Linked DNA regions of Homo sapiens: region 1 is linked to region 2. The links are contacts of gene promoters, found by promoter capture Hi-C in blood cells and fetal thymus (Javierre and others, 2016). All regions are on one chromosome and are shown on one strand. The core of a region is centred on a gene start or on the middle of the fragment in contact, and the rest is flanking DNA. Distances in the headings are between cores, read along the strand shown. Region 1 has its middle 46 kb from the start of FSTL4. Region 2 holds the start of CTB-3M24.3 (a long non-coding RNA gene).

Region 1 (5,477 bases), core at 1,625-4,124, 270 kb after region 2:
TTGTTCCCAGAGCCCGCCCTCCAGGTCACTATGCTGTGCTGATTCTCTTAAGACATGATGTTTAAGTTGAGGACTGACAGGGTAGGGGCTACCTTAGTCTGCATTCTCCTAGAAGCAAACCTGAGACAAGGATTCATGGGCAGGTAGTTTATTTAAGAGGTACATCTCAGGAGGCCCTGGTAGGGGAGTGAGAAAGTGAGACAGGGAAGAGAAAGAAGCCAACAAGGACTGTGTTGTCAAGCAAGTTACCACTGTGGGCAAATGGAGCTTAATCCCACTGGGAACTCTGGGATCTAGTATAAAACACATGTCTCTAAGTCTCCTTCCCACCCAAAGGGTTGAGGGAGCTGGAGTGTTTATACAACAATTCCCATTTCATTGTTTGAGGGCTGCTGTCAAGGGCAGTAATTTTCTGGACTTATGACCTGCCATTTGCACAGGCAGTGGCAGTTCTCATCTGAGAAAGCCCTTGGGCAAGGAGGCACAGGTTCTGGCAGGTGGGAGTCTGGCTGAACACATAGAAATGTTGAGACTCAGGGGGAATACAGCCAAGGCACCAACAGCTTCTGCTTGAGCGTTCTGGGTGGAAGGGACATCACACGTCAAGTCTCACAGGAGAGAACAGGCTTGGTGTGCTCAAGGAGCAAAGAGAAGGCTCTGGCTACTGGATTGATGAAGGCAGTGTGTTGAGAATGGCATTAGAGGCCCAGCCAAGTAAGGATGTGTGTGCCTTGATAAGGAATTGGCATTTTACTCTAGGTGTGATGGGGATGCAGGAGAGTGACTTTGATTTGTGTCTTTAAAAGATCACTTTGGTTGTTGGATGGAGAATAGACTGCAGGGTGCAAGAATAGAAGAAAGAAGACCAGGAAGGAGACTGACAATAGTCTAGGTGACGGATACGTTGACTTGCACTAGAGTGGTGTTTTAGTTGTGGTTGGATTCTGGCTATTGTTTAAGTTTACTGTTGGTAAGAATTAATGATGGAATGGTCAGGGGTTATAAGTGAAAGACAAGAGTCATTGACTAAGATGGAGAAGATGAGAGGAGATTCAAGTTCAGAGCAGCAGGTGGGGAAATTCAGAAGTCAGGTTTGGACATTTGGTAAGTCTGAGATGCCTATTAGTAAGTAGATTGTTAAATACAGGAGTCTGGGGTTCAAAAGAGAGTGATGAAGTCCGCTACGCTGTGCTGTAACCCCTCCCACCTTTCCTTGCCACTCAAGGAAAGCCCCCGCTAGACACACAGGGCAGTCTGTAGCACGTGTGGCATTGAGTGGCACATAGTTTGCAAGAAGGATGGTGGACTTAGAAACACGGTGGAGAGCTGTGATGTAGGAAGACCAATAACTCTAAGATGACCAGGAAAAGAGTTAGCCCCAAGAGATAGTAGTTACCATAGCATCCAAGTGACCATGTTATATGAGGTGGACAGGGACTTCTTTTCTTCTTTTGGTCCTCAGGTGCACAGAGTTGAGTACATCACATTGCTCACTTCAGTGCACACAATGTCCATTGGTTCATGAAGGGCTCTTCTCTAGTTTTGTTATTTTATTATTTCTCCTAGTTCCCTGTTTCCATATCTGTTCTTTTCTGCCCATAGGCACCTTCTCTAATGTATGTATTAATGTTACTAGATATCTGGGTATCCTTGAAAAATATGTAGTGTTGTTTTACATGTTTATATAATTCAAAATGTTATACATTTCATTATCCTTTTTTACTCAACACTATTTTAAGATCTATTTGCATTACTAAATGTAAATCTAGCTTACTGTTTTTTGTTTTTTTTGTTTTTTTTTTTTTTTACCAATTTCTGTGTAGTTTTTTTCTAAAACAGATGTATAGACTACATTTTCTCCTAGGGACACCTGGGCTCCCTTAAAGTCCTCCTTCATAAATAATGCTACAAGAAATAACATTTTAAAAAATTAGATTTTAGTAAATAGCCTTTGTTAAGATTGGAAATTTTCCATTTATTCTGGTTTCCTCTGAGTATATTTTAAAATAATGAATATGAATAGGTGTTGAACTTTCTCAGGTATTTCATTTGCATCTCCTAAAATGATCATGAGATTTTTCTTTTATTCCATTAATAGACTGAATCACAGTTATAGATTTTTTAATGCTTACACTTTCTTAAATTCTAACTTGATTGCATGTTTTAAAAGATAAACTGTTACATTTGATTAGCTAATACCATATTTAGGATTTTCACATCTATGTTCATAGGAAATTGACCTAAAATATTCTTTCACTGTATTGTTTTTATTCATTTTTAGGATCAGGTTTATACTAACCTGACAAAGTTATGTGAACAGTGTGCTCTTGATTTCGGATGGTTTGTAGCAACATTTTCAGATTGGGATCATCTATTCCTTGAATGTGTTGCTGAACATAGCTGTAAAACTATATGGAGCTGGAAATTTTTTGGAAAAAATGTGAATGATTTCATTTCAGTTTAAGAGTTATAGTTATACTAAGATCTTTTCCAGAACTTTATCTAGTTCCTCTTTTTATCTCACATTTTTAAAAATTTGCATTTCCTCTTTTATTAGTGTCACCACAGGCTTATCTATTTTACTAGTCTTTCTGAAGAACACTTCCAGTTCATTTCCCATTGTTGTTATTTTCTCTGCATTTATTAATTTCTGCCTATCTTCTTATTTACGTTTTTCTTGTTTATTTGGGTTTACTCTGTTTCCCCTTTGAATTTTTTAAGGATAAAGCTTAACTGTCTTACTTGCATTCTTTCTTAATTTCTAGTAAATTTATTTAAAGCCATAAATTTACCTGAGTGCTGCTTTGAACATGACTCACATAATTTAGCATGTGCTGCTTTCAAATGGTGAATTTTCATTCACCTCTAAGTATTTAACAACTTCTCTTTGGTTTATTGTATAGCCCAATGCTATTTGGGAGTATTTTTAAAATTTCCAGACATATAGGGTTTTAACATTTAATTTAATAGCATCATGGTCAAGAACATTGCATGCATGATGTTGATTCTTTTAAACTTATAAAGCTTTTAAATCTAAGCAAAGCTTATTTTGGGCTTACCACATTATAATTTGTTTGTGTTTGTTCTATATGCATATGAAAAGAAAGTATTTTGCTTATTGGGATACATATGAAGAGATAAATTATATTACTCTAATGTTCCATATCCTTGCTTATTTTTGTATGCTTCAAGTATTAGTTTTTGAGACTGTGTATTAAAACCTGCAGCTATTTTTTAAATTTATTTCCCACCCCAGCTCTGTCAGTTGTTGCTGTATGTCTGTTGATGACACATTATCAGAGGTGTACATATTCGTTATCATTCTATTTCTTGACATATTACTTGTTTTACCAATATATAGCATCCTCATTTTCCCTTTCTAATAGTTTATGCCTTAAATTACTGTCTTTCTGATACTAAAATTTCTATTCTGGCCTATTTCTGGTATATCTTTTCCTATCTTTTCTGTATCCTTTTGTTTCTAATCTATTGTTTGGTTTTTATCTTGATTGCTTGGTTTTTGTCTTTTAAATTCACTTAGAGAGTCATTATACTTTGATTAATGAATGACTTTAAATTATTTACTATTATTGTAATTCCTATTATAAATACATTGTAATATATTAATGTTAATATTAATTATAAAATATATGAACATTTATTTCTGCTTTTTTTATGTTTTCTATTTTCCACATCTTCTTCTTCCCCTTTCCTTTCTTATATTCTATTAAATAGATGGGATTTTCTTCTGCTAGCTTAAAAGTTAAATATTTTATTTTTATTCTTCTAGGAGTTGTGCTTAAGCTATCAAGAACTGTTTCCCCCCTATCAATTTCTTAAGCTATCAATATCTATTAATATTTTTCCTCTAGAAAAATAATTCAGAGAAATAGACAAAAACAAGCCCAAGTTATAGAGAGAAGAAAGGGATTAAGGGAAGGAAATAAAGGAGGGAGAAAGAGGTCAGCAAAGAACAGAACAAAAAGAGACAGAGAGAAATAAGTTGACAAAAAGAAAGAGTTAGGGGCTTAGAGAACGAAGCCAGGAGTTTTGTCTACCCAATATGCTCAAATTCAAACAGTGAGGAAAAAACACTAGGCTTCATTGGTTTCTTTCATGTAATGTCCCTAAATCATTTTCTTTTCTTCTTTTGGTTGGGAAAACATTCCAAATTATTTAATGTTTATTTACTAAGCAGTCACTGTGTTCTTGGCCCTCTTTCAGGCCTGGAGACAAAGCAGTGAAGAAGGAGACCCTCTCCTTTCCCTCCTAGAGCTCACAGTCAAGATCAGCAGCTTAAAAAGCAATTACAACAGAGTAGAGGAAGCATAGGGCACCTTAGGAGCATCCAGCAAGGGAAACCCAGCCCGGTCCATGGGAATTAGGGAAATCCTCCTGTACAAAGTGACAGCTAAGCCGAGATTGGAAGGACATAACTTCTTCACCTGTGGTGCCAGCAGCAAAGACTGGCCTTACCTGCTGCCCTCCTGCTGGCCACAGGCCCCCTGCATCCTATGGGGCTATGGGCAGAACATTCCCAGATGTGAGTAAGACCATGGTGCTTGTGCTCAGCATGGAGTTACGTGTCTACAGCCTACAGAGAACTGAAGTTGTCTCGGTTCAAATGCCCAGGATTCATAAGGTGCCCACCCTGTCCCTCTCCCCAGCCTGTGCCACTGGGTGACTGCAGACTGATGTCATTTTGTTCCTGAGGCCTACTACTTTTCTACAAAGCCTGCCTACCTATTTGCTCAGTGTCTTAATTTTCTTTTACACACAGTCATAGTCACTAATTTTGATAGATTGAGGAAGGAGTCTGTTAAGAAATCTTTGAAGGAAAAAAAGCAATTATTATTGTTTCCAAGGAGTAAATCCAGTGAGGCCTGCCTTGACTGACATCCACGCTGGTTTTAATGAACAGACAGACACTAACCAGTATGGAAACAGGAGAGGAGCTCGTGAGCTCTAGCTTTAGAGACAGCCAACTGTGTTCAAAACTTTATTTTTTTTTACTTTTGTTTTTTTGAGATGGAGTCTTGCTCTGTCACCCAGGCTGGAGTGCAATGGCACGAGCTCAGCTCATTGCAACCTCTGCCTCCTGGGTTCAAGCGATTCTCCTGCCTCAGCCTCCCAAGTAGCTGGGATTACAGATGCGCGCCATCATGCCTGGCTAATTTTTGTCTTTTTGTAGAGATGGGGTTTCACCATGTTGGCCAGGCTGGTCTCGAACTCCTGACCACAGGTGATCCGCCCGCCTCAGCCTCCCAAAGTGCCGGGATTACAGGCGTGAGCCACCGTGCACAGCCTTAAAACTTGATTTTACCGCTTACTGTCACTATGACCTTGGGAAAACCACCGAAGTGCTCTGAACTGCAGGCTCCTGGTTTGTAAAGATATAGTAAGAGCTTCACTCGGTGGCGGTGAGGATTAAACAGCACCATGCCTGGCACACACTTAGCACAGAGCTGGTACTTAAT
Region 2 (5,797 bases), core at 307-2,806:
CTCCGTGGGGCTATAGCCACAGGAATCCTGGTGGTGCCTTCACTCAAGTTCTTTCCTTCCCAGCCTTCTAGACAGGCACGCTCAACTGTGCATCTTGTTTTGTGCCAACTGTTTCTCTAAATTAGTATATGGGCTTCTGTCAGCATGTTTTACAGAGAGAAACCACATTTCTCAGCAGTGGACTTTGCCTTCCTTTTGTATAGATTCCCCATTTCTTCAGGTCTTCCTGATACCCACAGTTGTTTACCCTGAGAACCACAAAAGTTTTTAATATGGAAAGTTTGTTCCTTTAAAATTGCTAGGAGAATGTTTATTGAGACAAGCCTGGCACATAAACGAGATCTTCATGTCACTGAAATTTGGCAGGGGGCAGAGGTGGGGACACTGGCGAGAAGGAACCCAGGCAGAAGTGGAGAGACAGAAAGGTGTGACCGAGAAATATGGACGTTTTTCTTCCTGTGCAACGAAGCCCTCACCCTGTGTTTCACGTGGCATTGGCGGGGACTTTCTTCCTTTGTAATGTGCTCACTGGGGTTGTCACGTCACATAGCCACGTGGAGACAGCCACTGAAGTTCAAAGACAAGATGGGTGTAAATGTGATTCATTTCATTAAAACAACTGGATATACAATATTTGATGTCTGCGGTAACTCTAACTTCTCCTCATTTCCCTTTAGGGGAGTGAGAGTTTTTAGGTACCTGCTGTCTGATCAGTTGCAAGTGCCAAGTCTGGTGGAGGAGGAAGGAATGCAGCCATAACATCAGCAAAGCTGCATGAAGTCTTTCCCTCTGCTGCTGCCCCTGCCCTGTACCTGGTTGTTCATGTCCCACCCACCCACTCTTCCAGGTTCAGGTCAAGCCCCACTCCCTGACAAATATCTCTCCTAATCATGGGAGTGGCCACTGACACACACTGAAAGGGGATGGGCAGGTGCCAGTACTGGTGCCGTCATTTACAAGTCCAGTAACTGGGAAAGTTATCTGGCTTCTCTTTGCCTCTCAGTAAACACCAACTAGGAAAAGGAGTGCATGAGATGACGTCCATACAGCCCCTGGCGGTGGGCTGGCAGCCTGGCACATTCTCCGTGAATGAGAATGTGTATTTCCCATGATCCTATCCACCCCACCCTGATGGCCATTCCTTCTTTTCTGCAAGGCTGTGTCCCATGGTGGCCCTTTATTGCCTTGGGGGTTGAACTTCTACCTCTATCTCTTAACAGGGCAGCTCTTCTACCTTCTTTGCCTTTTCTTGGCAACAGAATTTGGCTCTTATGCATTTCTCTCTAATTGGTTAATCACATTGTATTGACTGCAACATTAGAACCAATAGTTCAGGCCTTCCCAATTGTCCTGACCATGTCACTGGCATACTGACACACGCCCATGAACAAAGGCTTCATCACACAAGGAAGACACACTATGACCCGCTGCGGTTTTCTTCCACTTCAGTTGTAGCCCTGCATGCTTTCTGGGGAGCACACTCTAGCCACCGAGATGAAGGCACGGGGAGGCCCGACCGTAGGTCGAACACGTCAGTCAGTGGCTGATCCTTCCCATGGTCTCTGGATACACCAGTGAAGGCAGGAGGTGAAGTCTCCCAGATCACCTGGGAACAGCCATGGACACTTGTCTGGGGCTGCATGAGGTTTGTTCTGGGCTCTGATGGAATATTGCCCTCATGTATGCTTTTTAACATACCGAGTCAAGGATTATGCAGGATCTGTTGAAATTCCAATAAGTCAGTCAAGAAAATTAAGCGCACTTAACCTCATCATTTACCCTTTGCAATTTTTGGTAACTATATTTGAAAAAGTTATTTAGACACCTTCTCATTTCAAGAGCCTCTGTGCTCACCTAAGCCTTGAGTTCCTCTTTGTCAGATTCTCTGATTTCTCTGTAGAATGTGAAGGGTTCATCTTTCACTTTTTTTCCCAGCCAAGAGTACACGGATGGTGTATTATTTGAACCCTTGCCCAGCAGAAAATACTTTTTATTCTTTCCATACATGGATCACCATTTGATAAGTGTAGAATTCTTGCATCATGGTCTTACCACCCCAAAATTCTACCAATGTTCTTCATTGCCTTCTTGCTTCTTAATATCGCAGAAAAGTCCAAGAACAGAATGTTTTTTTTCCTTCCTACCAGACAGTGTCTGAGACTCACCTTTGACACAAATGTAACTGAAGGGGAGAAGCTGCCCCTGGGCAAGCCGGTCAGCTGAAACCACTCAAGAGCCCCCAGTGCAACACCAGGTAGGACTTTTTTTTTTTTTGTCTGCTTTGTTTTTCTCTCTCTGGATATTTCAGATCACTTTAATTTTTTTTTTCAAAACCTAAAATGTCAGCAATTATATTTTGACTTATTTGATAGATCTTTCAGTATAGGGCACTTATTTTTTTGGATCTCTCTTTGCTTATTGTGTCCATTTGAATTGCTCTGAGGTCTTTAAGATAACCAATCACTATTATTTTAAATCTTTTATCTCTGTCTTACATAACTATCATCCTCTCCCACAGTATTTTTTAAATCTTCTTCTCATTCTCGGTGTATTTGGGGAGCGGTTTTCAAGTTTGTTCCCTGTATTGGAACAACTATGATTTCTGTATGGTTAATCTTTCCTTTGACTGCTTGAAGTGGAGAAGGAACTTCTGCAATTGTATTTCAGGTTCTTTATATTCTTTCCTTACCTCCCCCAGCTTCCATTTTATTTTTGACTGTGGCTCAGCCAATTTACAATCCCATTTTTTATCTCATTTCAGAGTTCATGTTTTCTTGCATTGGGAGTAGAACACAGTTGCTGTCTAAAATGAGCTTCTGTTTCTTGTAATAATTTTTCCCCAAAGCATGCTCTTTTGCTGCATCTTAAGTGTGTGCTCTCCTCCTCCTCTGTTGCAGAAGCCAGCTTCCCTTTCATTCGTGTTCAGACAGGTCTGTTCAGGCTTCACCTCTGTTTACTCTCACTGCAGCCCAGTGAGATTGACCAGACTGGAATTACAGCTAAATCCATGGTCACTGCCACGACATATTGCATCTGGAGAGGGGTCTTAACTTCCCTGTAACCAGCATTCATGGCTAAACAGTTGAGAGACGCCCTTGAAAATCTGGAGTTCTGCAGGTGGGTGGGAAGGAGAACAAGCAAGCTCACTCTCTGCGGAATTAGGATGATGTGTCACTGACCCTTTCTGACACCCCTGCCCCTACCCTGGTGTCCCCTTCTGAAACCTCCTCCTTTGTCTAGGGTATTTCTTCTTTTGTAGCTTTATAAGAGACATCTTCCTCGCCCCTGCTTTCCTGTCCATCACCCACCTATCCAGAAAGGTTCTGCCCTTCATATCCTCTGATGTCTCTAATCTCGGGTTCCCCAAATCATTGGACAAGCTTGCACGGGGAAAAGACTAAAGTCTCAGCTATGAGGACTCATGCAGACCTGGGTCTGTACAAGCTCCACCTGACTGGATATAAGTAAAGATCTCTGAAAATCCCTATAAAAATACCTTGGGTTTATTATATTTTGATGGAAATATGGATCACTGGATGAGCATCTGAGAAACAGAGACAAAGATGGGGTGGAGGAAGGCAGAAAGAGACAGAGATGTACAGGTGTATTGGAGGAAAAGTCAGAGAGCTAGCCAGGCCGAATGAGTGAGGGAGGCAAAGGCTCAAAGAGGCATTTGCTGGACCACTGTAGACCAGGCCTTTGGGCATACCTTAGCCAACTGAAGGGGGCATGGAGTGCACTGAACACAAGCAGTGGAAGAGAAAGCACAAGTTCCCTAAGGAAGACAAGAAAAGAGACATGGCTGCTAAGTCCCTGGATGAGCCCTTTTTTCCAGCTACAAAGAGAAGTGCACAACTGAGATCACCCTGCTTATAATAAGTGGACGGAGTTCACTGCATCTGGCTATTTTAATTACCTGCAAGCAAAGTGATTTTGCTACTTTCCTTTAGAGGAGCTTTTTGAAAGTAGTTTTCACTCTGATTACTTTCATTAACAAGTGATCAAAATGCATCAAAGCAGAAATGAGCACAACAAGAAGAAAAGCAGAGGGAAGAACTCTCTAGGAGATGTCCAAACTCAGTAGTCACTGTTAAGCTCTGTCTTCCCTCATTAGCCTGGAGAATACATGTGTTCTGGATCTGGCCCTCATGAGGCACCCAGGTGCAGGACTGGGCACAAGCTCACCTACAATCAGGAAGCATGGGTGGTTCCCGGAGACCCAGGATGCTGTACAGGGCTGGGCCCCAGCTTTCTGTAGTTCTGTCCCTCAGTTCTCCTGGCTGAGGACTCAACTCCACAGACCTTACATTCAGTTGTTTGGTGTGGTCTTGTTCCTCCTTCATCCAATGAGCCTGCTCTGCTGGGAAGTGTTTACTCCTGAAGACACTCTCTGCTGATGGAGATGAGCAGTCATTTACTCTCCCCTGGGTCACTGCCTCCTGATCCCCCTCATTTATTTCAGTTAACTTGACACAGTGGCAAGTGCTCCTCCCTCTCTTTGGAGAAGATGGCCCAAACTGGGTCACTGCTTCCCTGTCCAGAAAAGCAGGCAGAGAGGCTGAGTGATCATGCGAGGCACAAGGGCTGGGGCGAGGGAGGGAACAGCCGAGCCCCCAGGCCTCTGCTCAATTCTTGTACCCACTGTCCTCCCAGCCACTGGCCCCTTCAATGCCTTATATCACTAGGCAGCAGAGGAACCTGAAAGGGATCCCATATCTAGAAAAGAGCATGAAAGTCCTGTCCTTGAGCTTGCTAGTGGGCATAAAACACTTTGAGGCAGGCGTACAGAGACCACGTATTTGAGTTGTGGCTGGTCTGACAGCTGCTGAGTCTATCACACAGATAATTAGACAAACTGCTTGAGCACAGAGATTCAATACATGGTGTCATTTAGCGGCTGCTACACGGGGGCCTTGATCTTAATTGAAGGCACGATAGGGGAGAACCTTAAAGGAGTCCCAAATCAACTTCTTCTTGCTCCAGTAATTAAACATCTGGCTCCTGGTGATCATCTGAAACCTCTCGAGTGTTGGGCATAGGGTCCACTCACATGGATCTGAGCACCTGAGCCACCGGCACCCCTCCTGTCCACACAGGGCCTTCCTCAAACAGCCTCCTGCGGAGAAGCCTGGGGAGGAGGCTCCATGTCACTCCCTCCCCTCATCAAGGCCACTTTTGGGTGGGCCTCACGGAGTAATGAGAAGGGCAATATAGCCAAGTGGCAAAGAACTTGGGCTTCCAATGGCCGACAGAGCCCTATGGGGAGATCAACCCCATCAGCCCTCCGACTTGCTCAGTTTCTCTCTGCTTACTTACCCTGGTCCAGCAACTCTGGCCCCCTTGTGAGCCCCCAAACACGCTAGGCAAGCTCCTACCTTAGGATCTTTGCAAACTTTGTATTGCCACTGCCTGGGATACTCTTCCCCCAGATATTCAAATGCCTCACTCCCTAACCCCCCGGCCTGCTGCAGACCTTTGCCCAAATGTCACTTCTCATATCAGAGGCTCTGGCTAACTGCCCTCCTGGCTTTATTCTGCTCCATGGCACTTGTCACCATCACATAGACTTCATCTCTTGTTTACTGTTTGTTTCTCCCACAAGACTGTACCTGCCATGGGGACTGGGCTCTGTTTTGTTCCCTGCTGTGTCCCCACATCTCCAAATAGTATCTGATGCATAGTACATGAATATTGCTGAACAACTGGACAGAAGGGTTCGAGCAGGACAGCACCATGGTCAAAGTTCCATCTTGGAAAGCTTACTCTAAATGCCATATGGAAAGTGGATTTGAAGAAG

Evidence for each region. Contacts are between HindIII fragments. The CHiCAGO score rates a contact against its expected background, and 5 or more counts as called.
Region 1: a fragment that was not itself captured here is called in contact with the fragment with the promoter of CTB-3M24.3 in region 2 in 1 of 17 cell types (endothelial precursors); the score reaches 8.9 in endothelial precursors.

The regions. Positions count from the first base shown.
Region 1 is chr5:133,655,984-133,661,460 of GRCh38, forward strand. It overlaps a transcript of FSTL4 not described here. Among named protein-coding and RNA genes, the nearest start is that of FSTL4, 46 kb to the left of the region's middle. The HindIII fragment of the contact is 296 bases long and covers 2,727-3,022 here.
Region 2 is chr5:133,386,326-133,392,122 of GRCh38, forward strand. It overlaps CTB-3M24.3 (a long non-coding RNA gene), which reads left to right and starts at 1,557. Exons shown (of 3, transcript XR_948794.4): 1 at 1,557-1,645; 2 at 2,148-2,254. All of the region lies in intron 4 of FSTL4 (follistatin like 4), which reads right to left. The HindIII fragment of the contact is 3,410 bases long and covers 1-3,378 here.